Regions from separate parts of the Homo sapiens genome. Here regions 1 and 3 are each linked to region 2. The links are contacts of gene promoters, found by promoter capture Hi-C in blood cells and fetal thymus (Javierre and others, 2016). All regions are on one chromosome and are shown on one strand. Each heading gives the region's core, a stretch centred on a gene start or on the middle of the fragment in contact. The rest is flanking DNA. Distances are from core to core; before and after follow the strand shown. Region 1 holds the start of CABLES2 (Cdk5 and Abl enzyme substrate 2). Region 2 holds the start of LINC00659 (long intergenic non-protein coding RNA 659). Region 3 holds the start of GATA5 (GATA binding protein 5).

The links. The method cuts DNA at HindIII sites, captures the fragments that hold promoters and counts their contacts. A CHiCAGO score of 5 or more calls a contact.
Region 1: a contact is called between the fragment with the promoter of CABLES2 here and the fragment with the promoter of LINC00659 in region 2, in 2 of 17 cell types (M1 macrophages and M0 macrophages). The highest score is 7.2, in M1 macrophages.
Region 3: the fragment with the promoter of GATA5 here is called in contact with the fragment with the promoter of LINC00659 in region 2 in 2 of 17 cell types (M0 macrophages and M1 macrophages); the score reaches 7.8 in M0 macrophages.

Annotation. Positions count from the first base shown.
Region 1 is chr20:62,406,033-62,409,816 of GRCh38, forward strand. It overlaps CABLES2 (Cdk5 and Abl enzyme substrate 2), which reads right to left and starts at 1,253. Exons shown (of 10, transcript NM_031215.3): 1 at 883-1,253. The coding sequence starts at 1,244. It overlaps LOC105372709 (a long non-coding RNA gene), which reads right to left and starts at 862. Exons shown (of 2, transcript XR_936967.3): 1 at 1-862. RefSeq lists a silencer at 1,170-1,419. The HindIII fragment of the contact is 20,791 bases long and covers 1-3,784 here.
Region 2 is chr20:62,774,340-62,778,184 of GRCh38, forward strand. It overlaps LINC00659 (long intergenic non-protein coding RNA 659), which reads right to left and starts at 2,517. Exons shown (of 3, transcript NR_046225.1): 1 at 2,467-2,517; 2 at 976-1,047; 3 at 1-230. RefSeq lists a silencer at 1,824-1,985. The HindIII fragment of the contact is 9,640 bases long and covers 1-3,845 here.
Region 3 is chr20:62,474,094-62,477,841 of GRCh38, forward strand. It overlaps GATA5 (GATA binding protein 5), which reads right to left and starts at 1,902. Exons shown (of 7, transcript NM_080473.5): 1 at 1,837-1,902; 2 at 906-1,449. The coding sequence starts at 1,428. RefSeq lists an enhancer at 1-170. The HindIII fragment of the contact is 37,958 bases long and covers 1-3,748 here.

The sequences.
Region 1 (3,784 bases), core at 3-2,502, 370 kb before region 2:
GGGCTGAGGTGGTTCCCAGAAATGGAATCAAGGCAGGGGGAGCAGTGGAGACCCAGGGTGTGACAGACCCAAAGATACCGAGCTGAGAGTGATGTGGGGAAGGGCGGGGCTCAGCAGGGAAGTGACAGGGAGAGGAGGGGTGCCAGAGACCAGTGGCTGTGGGATGGGAGATGTGGCTGTGCAGGGGCCTCTGGGAACAGGTGTCAGTGACAGTGCCAGGAGGACCCCGGCCCACATGCTGGGTCTGAGGAGGTGGGCATGGACGGTGTGGCCCGGTTCAAAGAATGCGAAGAGATGCACAGGGCTGTCCATGTGTCCCTGTGTCCCGGGCACTGGTACCAGTGGATGGGGGTGGGGGCATGTCCAGAACCCACAGGGCTGGGGGTCTCAGGGGTAATAAGGGCTGAACCCTAAAACCCATTTCAGAGCACTGACAACGTGGAGATCCAGACCCCGTATTCAGGGGCTGGGAGAATTCAGGGGACAATGAACCCTATGTGTGGGGGGTGACAGGGCCTGAGGAAACCCTCAGCCAGCCCAGGAACCCCCAGTTCTGTATCCAGGACTGACAAGGTCCCAGGTGAACCCAACCCCTGTGTCCTGGGCTGATGAGGGCCCAGACTGACCCTGACCCCTGTGTCCTGGGTTGACAGGGGCTCAGGTCACCTGAACCTCTGTCCAGGGCTGACAAGGCCCCAGGTGAACCCAACCCCTTTGTCCTGGCCTCTGTCCAGGGCTGACAAGGCCCCAGGTCACCTGACCCCCTTGTCCTGGGCTGATGAGGCCCCAAGTAATCCTGACCCCTAGTCCTGGGCTGATCCGGCCCCCGTCCCCGTCCCTGTACCCCGCGTCCTGGGCTGACCTGGCCGGGCCCCCACTCACCTCTGGCGCTGCCCATCCAGGCCGAGGCCGGTGGGCACCTGCGTGGGGCTGAGCAGGCCCTGGGGCGCGGGGGTCCTGGCGGGCAGCCCGGTGGGGGGCTCCGGCGGCGGCGGCGCTGGCGGTTCGCGGGCCTCGGCGGGCGGCGGCGGGGGCTTCTCTCCGCCCGGGCCCAGGCTCGGGGGCCGCCCGTCCAGGGAGATGTTGTTGAGGAAGAAAAGCGCGGCCTGGCGGCGCCGCGAGTCCCCGCGCCTCCGCAGCGCCTGCGGCGGGGCCCGAGCGGCCGAGGTCGGCGCGGCGGGTGGCGGGGGCCCGGCGGGGCCGGGGGCCGGGCCCGGGGCTCCACCGGCCGCGGCCGCGGCCATCCTCAGACTGCGCCCGCCGCCGCGAAGCGCCCCACCCCCTGCCCGCGCGCCCGCGCGCCCGCCGCCCATTGGCCGCGGCGCGCCCACATGCAAATGTATCGCCGTCGCGCTCTCCCATTGGCCAGCGAGGTGCCGCGCTCAGGGCGCTCCCCTGGGTCCTAGAGGCGGTCGGACGCAGCAGCAGGGAGTCGGGAGCTGCGCGCCTCCCCGCCGGTTCGAGTCCCCGTCTTGGGACCTGCGGCCGCGGGGCTCTCGCTTTCTGTTCCCTTTGCTGTATGGCGGCCTTCGCGGATGGCCTCCATCGAGCGCACATTTTAAGGCTCCGGACCCAGGGCGGCGTGGGTGAGGCCCCAGCACACTTCCCTGTCCGGAGGTGTGTCTGGGCGGCGCTTCAGCGGGCGCAGGGCGGCCCCTGGAGGAGCCCCACCGCTTCCCGGAAGGGCCCGCGTGCCATCTGGCCTCCTTCATTGACAGAAGGGAACGAGGGTCTGAGTGGAGAAGGCACCTGCTTGGGATCAAAGCCCCAGGCAGAGTCCTGCACTTCCTGCAGTAGCAAAGTGACCTTGAGCCTGCCTTGTGCCCAGGCCTGTTTCCTCTCTGTGCCTGGGTGCCCCTGACTTCAGAACCTGTGAGCCCGTGGCACCGGGATGGTCAGGGCCTGCCTCTGGAGCCCGGGAGCCTGTCTGCAGTCTGGAGGGGAACCCGCTGTATCTTTGTGGAGGGACTCAGGACCTTGCACCCACCTCTGTGTCACCTGCCTGCTCTGTCCAGCTTTCTTTCATGGGTTTACGTATCTTTAAAGAGGGGACAATGATTTCAGCCTCAGGGTACTGTCAGGATGAAACTGGCTCAGTGAGGGGGTCGGGCTGTGGCCGGAGGCCAGGCACATGCAGTGGTCAGTCCGCGAATGCGCTGCAGTACCTCGCACCTGCCCGCATGCGCCCAGCCTCTCCTGTGCTGGGTGCTGGGGACCCGGTGGGACCGACAGGCACAGCGCTGGCCCTAGGAGCACCTGGTGTGTGGGGAGGCAGCATGATGGCCAACAAGGCAGTGGGCGAGTGGGCAAGACAGGGTCTTCATCACCACCCCTAGCATGGGCCCCTGCCCTTCAGGCCCCTACCCACCTCCCGCCTGCCTGCTCCCTCCTGTGGGCCTTCACGGGCCACCATTGGGGCTCACGCAGCATGCAGCACCTCCATTTCCTTTCCCTCCGCCCTTCCAAGTTGGCCTCCAAGGCCTCTGCCAGGCCTAGGGGAAGGTGGGCAGCTGTCCTGTCTAGGAGAACGCGGGGCTGGGTGGCATAGCAGAGGGGTGGCTGCGGATTCTGGATCCACAGAATGGGGTGCTGACTTGTGTGCCTGGGGGCTCCCGTGAGCGGGGAGTGAGTGTGTCCAGCGCTGTAGGGTGCTGAGGCTGGGGCAGGCACACAGTGGGCCCTCCATCCCTGCTGGCTATCACCAGGAGGAGGGGCCTGACAGGGGAGGGTGGGCCATACACCAGCAGCTTGCAGAGAATCTGGTGTCAGATGAGAACAGAAAGGGGCGAGTGAGGGTGGAGGGCAGGACGCAGGAGGCAGGAGGCAGCTGTCCGTGCTGGCTGCAGCGCCGGGTCCTGGGGATCGGCTGTGCAGTAGGGGGGCCCCTAGCCAGTTCTTCTTTGCTGGCGCTAAGCTAGACTTTGAGGGACAAGGAGGAATGCTGAGGAAGGAACGGGGTCTCTTCCTGGGTCTGGTGAACCCCCTTGCTAGGCTCCCGCTGCCAGTCTTCTCCCCTCCCCAGGGTGTCGATGGGTGGCCAAAAGCCAACCTGGCCTGCGGGCAGTGTGTAGGGAACACACGGCTTTTGTTTCGTGTGATTCTGGAGAAATTAAAGCAACCTTTAACACACCTGGACTTCCCTCTTGGGAGTTCAGTCCCTCTGGCCTCTCAGGACAACAGGCAGACATGTCACAGGCTGCAGGTGGGAGGCAGTGCCCCCTGAGTCAGGCCCGCACCCCAGTCTGGCCCAGGCCTCACCCAGCCCAGTCGTTGGCCCGTGTCCTGCCATCCCTGTGATGCGTGGTTTTAAATGCCCAGCTCACCTTGGTGCTTTGGCTGCAGAGGGCCCTGCTCATGAGTTTCGCTCCTTATTTTCTTTGGCTCTCACCCTGAACTCTGAGCAGGTGTCAAGCGCAGGGCTCTGTCTGGATGCTCCTGACTGCAGGCCTGGCCCTTGGGCTGACTTCTTAGTTTCCCCCTTGCCCTGGCACCCCTCCGTGGCCCCCACCTTTCCTTTCTGCCTGATCCTTGTCCATTTTTCTAGAGTTGGGGTCTCAGCAAACTTCCCAGAACATCCTAGCTCCTTGCCTACTTGGCACACTCCTGTTCATCCCTCAGAACCCAAATTTGGGTTGCAGGTGCCACCTGCCTTGACCTCCCAGGGACACCTGCTCTCCTCCCCGTCCCCCAACACTGGCCATGACTTGGTGCCATTGCTCCTTTGCCCACCGCTCCCTGATGCCCAGCAGAGGTGTCAGTGCCCAGTGTCTCTGCCCTGTAAGGG
Region 2 (3,845 bases), core at 1,267-3,766:
ACACCTGGGGCTCTCCCTCCTTCCTTTGTGTGCACAACCTCAAAGCCATTTTTTCCAGACTTGGCGTGAAGATGATTTTCTGACACGTTGATGCTTCTGAAGCACAAGGAGGGCCCTGTCTCCACGGTGTCCAAGCAGAGGCTGACATCCTTTCAGGAGGGAGGTGATTCGGGCGCAGCTGGGCTGGCGGGAGGCATGGAGGCTGAGTCCCCTTCCTCACTGCTCTCTACCTGGAGAAGAAACCACCAGACCATGAGGCCGAGCTGGGGAAAGTTCCGGGGGGCTGCTTGGGCTCTGTGCTCCCTCCACTGGGGCAGGCGGAGGGCCCTGCGTGCTCCTTCCAGGCAGGGGCTGAGGGGACTGTGGAAGCCACGACAGGGGTCTGTGTGAACAGAAGACCCAAGGACAAGGTGCCCCAGCACTCCCAGCCACTAGCAAGGACAGGCAATTTTCAAAACTTCTCCCCAAACTACAACCTCAGGAAAAGGGGTGGAGAAAACTCCTTTGACAGAGATTTGGTTTTCACCACCATGACAGGACAATGATGATGGATGGAAGCTGTGGCTGGGCGTGGGAAGGCTGAGTGTGCAAATGTGGGTGGAGTTCTGGGGCCCCGCCCCCGCCAGTCTTCCACTTGGTCCCTGTGAGGACCCACATGAGGGAAGTGTTGCTTCTGGCCTCAGAACCCAAGGCAGAGCAGGCTGGAGTCCCACCCCATGGATCACGAGCCCACGCTGTGACCCTGAGTCCTGGACATGCGCAGAGGGAGGGTGTGCACGAGCCCGGGAGCTCCTGTCTCTGTCTTAAGAGTGGAGCATGTCTTAAGAGCTGGCATGAGGATCAGAGGGTCCCTTCAGTGCGGCCTTCTAGAAGAACTACAGCAACCAGGCCCTCGCAGGGGGGAGATGCACCTGCTGGGGCTAAGGAGCGAGTGAAGCCAGCCCCTGAGACACATGCTCCCAACCCCATCCTCACCTCCCAAGAGAGGGGGAGCCTCCTGTTAAGCATCCAAGTCCCAAGTCACCGGCCGGCATCGGCTGCAGCTCTCTGTGTGTGGAGACATCTCATTCTGGTGTCTTCTTTACACAGGTCAGCGCTCACAGGCTCGGCTGTGTCTCAAGACCCAATTCCTTCGAGTCACTGAGATGCCCAAGGACAAGGGCAACAGAGAGTGTGAAAAGCTGGAGTAGACAGGACAGAAAACAGGGTGCAGCGTCCCCCAGGTTGGCAGATAGCCCAGCCCCAGGGACCCCACAGCCATGGCAACCTGTGTGAATGAGCCCCAGGAGCAGGGCAGTACACGATCTGCGCGACTGTGCGGGGCAGCCCTGGGTCTCTGCCTCAGGGGAGAGATTGTGTCCTCGCCTTTTGTGGTTTCTAGAGGTTCCTGCCCTCCTTGGCTGCACGGCATCTCCCAGCCTCTCTCTCCCTTCCGTCGTCCCCTCTCCTCCTCTGACCCTGACCCTCCCAGTCCCTCTTAGAGGGGCTGTGATTAAACTGTGCCCACCCTGACCATCCAGAATAATCTCCCATCTCAAGGTCCTTAACAGCATGTGGAACTGCACTAGCCGCCCCAAGGCCCCCAAAAGGCAACCCTGGATTGGGCCCCCCAAGTTGCCTGGGATTCATGGCCACCACCCGGCTCGACGGCTCCAGACCGAAATGCACCCAGTTATAGAAACAGACAGTTGCCTCTTGAATGTGCACATGTGTGAGGAGAGTGTCACACCCGTCGAATTAAGGTGGACCCGCCATGAGTGGGGGCAATGCTGGCCAATGCCCACCTGCCCAGCACCCACAGCTCTCGGCCTGGGGCTCCCTCTGTCTCTGGAGCCCGCACTAAAGTGTGCGTCTCCATCCACGACTGGCAGGGCTTGGGGCATAGACATCCCGCTGCCTTGCCTGGAGGCGCCCCAGGCCTCCACTCCCACACTGTCTCAGGGCTCCCCGGGGCTCGGCTCTCCTTGCTCACAGTGGTCCGGGCTGGGGTTCCTTCTTGGTTGCATTTCCAGCTGTGTTCTTTCCTTCACTTTCTCACTCTCCCTTGCCTCAGGGTCTGCATCTGGGGGTCCACTGGGGAGGACTCAGCCTCTCCCGCGTCCTCCATCCCACACACCTGTCCCTGGGCAGCCACGGGGAACAGGAGCACAGGGGACAGCAGGCAGAGGGCAGCGCCCGGGCGAAGGGGACTTTCGCCCTTGCTTCATGCAGCCCTGGCACCCGCAGCAGGGTAAGACGAGATCCCAGAGGAGGAGTCTTGGCCGCAGAACTGCAGGGCCAAGGCACCAGCCGCTCGGGGGCCTGGAGAGCTCAGGTCACAAACTTGAAGTCAGCTGCCCAGGAAGCAGCCTCAGCTGGGGGTCACAGGCCAACTGGGCAGTGCCCTTGGCCACACCTGTGGAAGGAGGACAGAGGAGGGCAGGGCGGAGGAGGGAGGTGCTGGGCTGCAATGTCACCTCTACAGACCTCGGCTGATCCCAAGGGGGTCCACAGTGGATATGGTCCTTCAGGGGTGCCCTTGAAGGCAGGAAGGGGACAGGACTTTATACTGTTCCTCCCACCCCTTCGAGCAGTCACCAACTGCAGCCCAGATGAGGTCAACAGGTACAGAAAGGAGGGGGTGGGACAGGAAGGAGGGGCGGGACAGGAAGGAGGGGGCGGGACAGGAAGGAGGGGCAGGACAGGAAGGAGAGGGTGGGACAGGAAGGAGGGGCGGGACAGGAAGGAGGGGGCGGGACAGGAGGAGGAGATGGGAACAGGGAGGTGGAACGGGAAGGAGGAAATGGGACAGGAAGGAAGAGATGGGAGCAGGAAGGAGATAGGACTGGAAGGAGGAGATGGGACTGGAAGGAGGAAATGGGACAGGAAGGAGGAGATGAGGCAGGAAGGAGGAGATGAGGCAGGAAGGAGATGAGGCAGGAAGGAGGAGATGAGGCAGGAAGGAGGAGATGAGGCAGAAAGGAGGAGATGGGACGGAAAGGAGGGGATAGGACAGAAACGAGGGATCAGGGTCCTATTCTAATCTCCTGGGGGCATGATTGCAGGGGGTGACATGATTACTTCCAGCCAGCCCTACATGAGCCACCTCGTCCATGGAGTCAGCCCCGCCAGGGCAGCAGAGCCCTGGGTTCGCACAGGGAGCCAGGGTGGCGTGGGGCCTGCATTGCAGACTCCATTTGTCCACATCAATCACTTCTCTACGGCCCAAATCACCCTTAGTTGCCCAGTTCCTGCTCCGCGGCAGTCTGGCTCCTGCTGGCGCCCCAGCCATCTGTCTGCATTAGAGAATGATGCTTGCCAGGGCCTCAGGGAGGTGGCACGGATGGGCAACACTGTGCTCCCGGACCAGGTGACAGACACCACCTCATGCCCCATGGCATGGACCTCCACCTGTCTGATGGCTTTGCCCCAGCCTATCTGATGGCATGGTCCCTGGCCAGTCTATCTAATGGCGTGGTCCCCAGCATGTCTGATGGCGTGGTCCCCAGCCTGCCTGATGGCGTGGTCCCCAGCCTGTCTGATGGCATGGTCCCCGGCCTGTCTGATGGCGTGGTCCCCAGTCTGTCTGATGGCGTGGTCCCCGGCCTGTCTGATGGCGTGGTCCCCGGCCTGTCTGATGGCATGGTCCCCGGTCTGTCTGATGGTGTGGTCCCCAGCCTGTCTGATGGTGTGGTCCCCGGCCTGTCTGATGGCTTGGTCCCTGGTCTATTTGATGGTGTGGTCCCCAGCCTGTCTGAAGGTGTGGTCCCCAGCCTGTCTGATGGCGTGGTCCCCGGCCTGTCTGATGGCTTGGTCCCTGGTCTATTTGATGGTGTGGTCCCCAGCCTATCTGAAGGTGTGGTCCC
Region 3 (3,748 bases), core at 652-3,151, 300 kb before region 2:
AGGGTGGAGGAGGTGCCTTCTGTCAGCTTGGCTGTGGTCGCAACCAGTGTCCTTCCTTTAGAAGGCCAGCCCCGCCTCACAGCCCCCTGGGGCCGGGCTTCGCACACTGTGCGGCTGGGGGTGGAGGTCTTCCTGGTCCCCTCCAGGCCCGGCCCGGCGCCGGCGCGAGGGAGGCCCGGGCGCCGAGTGGGGGTGGGGCAGGGATCAATCATCGCCCCGCCGGGGGTGGGCGCCAGCAGCCGGGCTGTCCAGGGAGGCGGGGGCCAGGGGTCCTGCGGATGCCGCTGCGCCCGCTTCCTGCGCCAAAGGGCCGGCGGGGTCCCAAAGGCAGCTCCGGAGCTGGGTGTCGAGGCCTCCAAGGTCCCGGAGGGACGGGATGGGCCCCTGCGGAGCTCAGAGGAGCCGCCTTCGCCAGAAAGTGACTACGCTGCAACCGGGAAGAGCCGCTCCCCTCACAGGCCGAGAATCCGATTCTCCAAACTGATACTCGGGAAGCGACTGAAACCAGGTCTCAAATTAAAATCAGTAAACGTCCTAGAACCGAGACGAATGTGGCCACTTAAATAAACCGATGTTTTGGGCTTTATAAAAATCGTTTCCAAAACTTTTCAAAAACAAAAACAAAAACGATTAAGACTTTTGAGGCTCCACATTGGCACAATCCGGAATGCTGTTTGGAAATAGATGTTCCTTCTCATTAACAGGTTAAAACAGAATTCTGGATGGGTGTTTCCCGTGCGGGGTGTTACCCAGGTTTACTCGTCTCGCCCCGGGGCTGCTGGTGTCGCTCCTGGCAGGGAGGCTCGGACCGTGGGGGAGGATGAGGGGAGCGTTTCGCAGGGTGCGGGTTTGCACCCGGATTCGGCCGCTCCTGGGCCCCGAGACTGTGGAGCCCCCGCACTCACCGAAGGTGGGCCTGCGGCCTGGGAGGCCGTGCAGGACGCTGCCATCGAAGGGCCCGGCAGTCCAGGACTGGGCCACGTCGGGGCTCACGTAGGCCGGGTAGGTGGCGGAGTACGAGGTCCCCACCGGCCGCCCAAGCGGGGCCGCGAACTGTTCTCGAGGCAACAGCGCGCCCTGGTAGGCACTGCCGTCTCGGCCCCCCGCGCTGCCGCCGCTGCCGGGCCCCGAGGGGCTGTGCGCGAAAGGGAAGGCGGTGGCCCCGGGCGGGTGCGCGGCTGGGGGGTGCGGACTGCCCGGGCCGAAGGCCGACGAATCCGCGGTGGCTGTCTGCGCCCAGCCGGGGCGCGCAGCGAGCTCGGGGGGCTGCGGGCTCGGCTCACACCCGGACAGGTAGGACAGCATCGAGGGGACGCGCGCCGGCGGCACAAACATCGGAGAGCCGGCGCCCGGAGCGTGCAGGAAGGAGCCCGAGTCGGCGTAGGCGGCCTGGCGGGGGCTCGCGGCCAGCGCCAGGCTCTGGTACATCCTCCCAGGCGTGGTCTTGACCTGCAGGGAAGAGGGACAGGTGTGGAGGTCACGGGAGCTCTGCGCCCTCCGCCAGCGCCCGAGCTTATGCCGGGCAGGTGCCGCCGCTTCGGGCAGCGCTTCCCAGTCCCCAGCCCGGGACGTTCGCGGGGCGGGTCCCCGAACCCGAGGGAGAGGAACCGCGGGGATGGGAGAGGCCAGCGCGTCATCCCCGGGGCAGTCACAACGCCGAGCCCACCTCCTCCCCGACCGGGCTTCGGAGGTCCCCGGGGTGAGCTCGGTGGGGGCCTGGGAAGGACGGGCCTGGCGCGGCCGCAGGACGCAGGGCCTGGAGAGCGGGGCCCCGCCGCGCTGGGAGGGGCCGGGTGGGGAGGGGCGCGCGGCTGCAGCCCGGGCTGGAGCACTCACCAGCGGGCAGGGAGGGCGGCAGGGCACGGCGGTGGCGGTGGGTCGGCGACCGGCGGGCCGAAGACTGGAAGCCCGGGCCGCTGAGGCTCCGCAGCCCCCTCCGCGCCGCCCCGGCCCGCCCCCGCCGCGCCGCCCCTTCCCTCCCCGCGCCCGCCCCTTCTTCCCCGCAGGGTCAGCGCTGGGGCTCCGGCCGTAGAGCCACGTGACCCTGGCAGGCCCTGCTCGCGGGGCTTGGCGACAAGGACGCACGACACGGGGCGGCCAGCGCGGAGCCCGGACCAGTGCAGCTAGACGGGCGGGCCGAGGGCTTCGTGGGCCCCGGGGAGTCGGGCGCAGAGACTTCTCCAAGTTTGTGCGAGTCCCGAGCCCTCTGCCTCCCTGCCCCGGCCCCCGCCGAAGGCTGGCCTAAAGACGGGCTCCGTGTCTGGTGGCTGAGTCGGTGATCCCGGCCCCGCTCACCGATGGACACGCGGCGGTGGAACCCCGTGGGCCCCCTCGTTGCGTGGCCGCACCCGGGGCTCGGTGCAGGGAACCGGCTTCCATAGGGACGGCCGGCTCGGGTCGCTGGACTGGGACGGGGTGCACTGGCGGGAGCCCCGCGATTTCCTCGGTTTCTGAGCAAGCGGGGCCACAAGGCTCGGGGTCCCAGTGGGAGGTGGGCAGGGTCCAGCCTCTAAGGCCCGATCTGGGTGCCAGGCTCGAAGGCCCCAACCCCGGTGGGGCTCTCAGCCGGCTCTCGGGGACTCGGGAAGAGTTTCCTCCAGGCGCCAGAAATGCGTGTGGGTAGGAGGCGACCCAGGTCAGGGAACCGTGTCCCGCTCGCACTCCCGGTGAGGGCTGCATGGAGGCGCCGCTGCCGCGGAGCAGCTCCGCAGGTTGCGGGAAACGGAACGGCGGGCTCGGAGCACACCGGGTGGACCCAGGCTTGGCGGCCATGAAAGTTCTTTTTTTCTTTTTTTCTTTCTTTCTTTCTTTCTTTCTTTCTTTCTTTCTTTCTTTCTTTCTTTCTTTCTTTCTTTTCTTTCTTTCTTTCTTTTTTCTTTCTCGGAGCACACCGGGTGGACCCAGGCTTGGCGGCCATGAAAGTTCTTTTTTCTTTCTTCCTTCCTTTCTTTCTTTCTTTCTTTCTTTCCTTCCTTCCTTCCTTCCTTCCTTCCTTCCTTCCTTCCTTCTTTCTTTCTTTCTTTCTTTCTTTCTTTCTTTCTTTCTTTTCTTTCTTTCTTTCTTTCTTTCTTTCTCGGAGCACACCGGGTGGACCCAGGCGTGGTGGCCATGAAAGTTCTTTTTTCTTTCTTCCTTCCTTCCTTCCTTCCTTCCTTCCTTCCTTTCTTTCTTTCTTTCTTTCTTTCTTTCTTTCTTTCTTTCTTTCTTTCTTTCCTCCCTCCCTCCCTCCCTCCCTCCCTCCCTCCCTTCCTTCCTTTTGCGGAGTCTCGCTCTGTCTCCCAGGCTGGAGTGCAGCGGCGCGATCTCAGCTCACCGCCTCCCAGGTTCAAGCGATTCTCCTGCCTCAGCTTCCTGAGTAGCTAGGACTACAGGCACCCGCCACCACACCCGGCTAATTTTTGTATTTTTAGTAGAGACGGGGTTTCACCATGTTGGTCAGGCTGGTCTCATCGAGCTCCTGACCTCAGATGATCCGCCCGCCTCAGCCTCCCAAAGTGCTGGGATTACAGGCGGGAGCCACCGCATGAAAGTTCTTCCTTGCAGAAACGGGCCCTCAACTCCTGTCAGTCAGGGCTCGGAGAGGACGCTGGTGAAGGGTGAAGACCTGGGAAGGCAGGAAGGCGGCGATGTGGGGCCGTCGGGGTGGGTGTCACTGGATCCCCCCCACGGGGGTCTGGACAGCCGGCGCTGTCCGTCTGGGAAGAGCTGGGGTGCCCCACATGCGCCCTTATTCCTGGCCTTTCCTCTT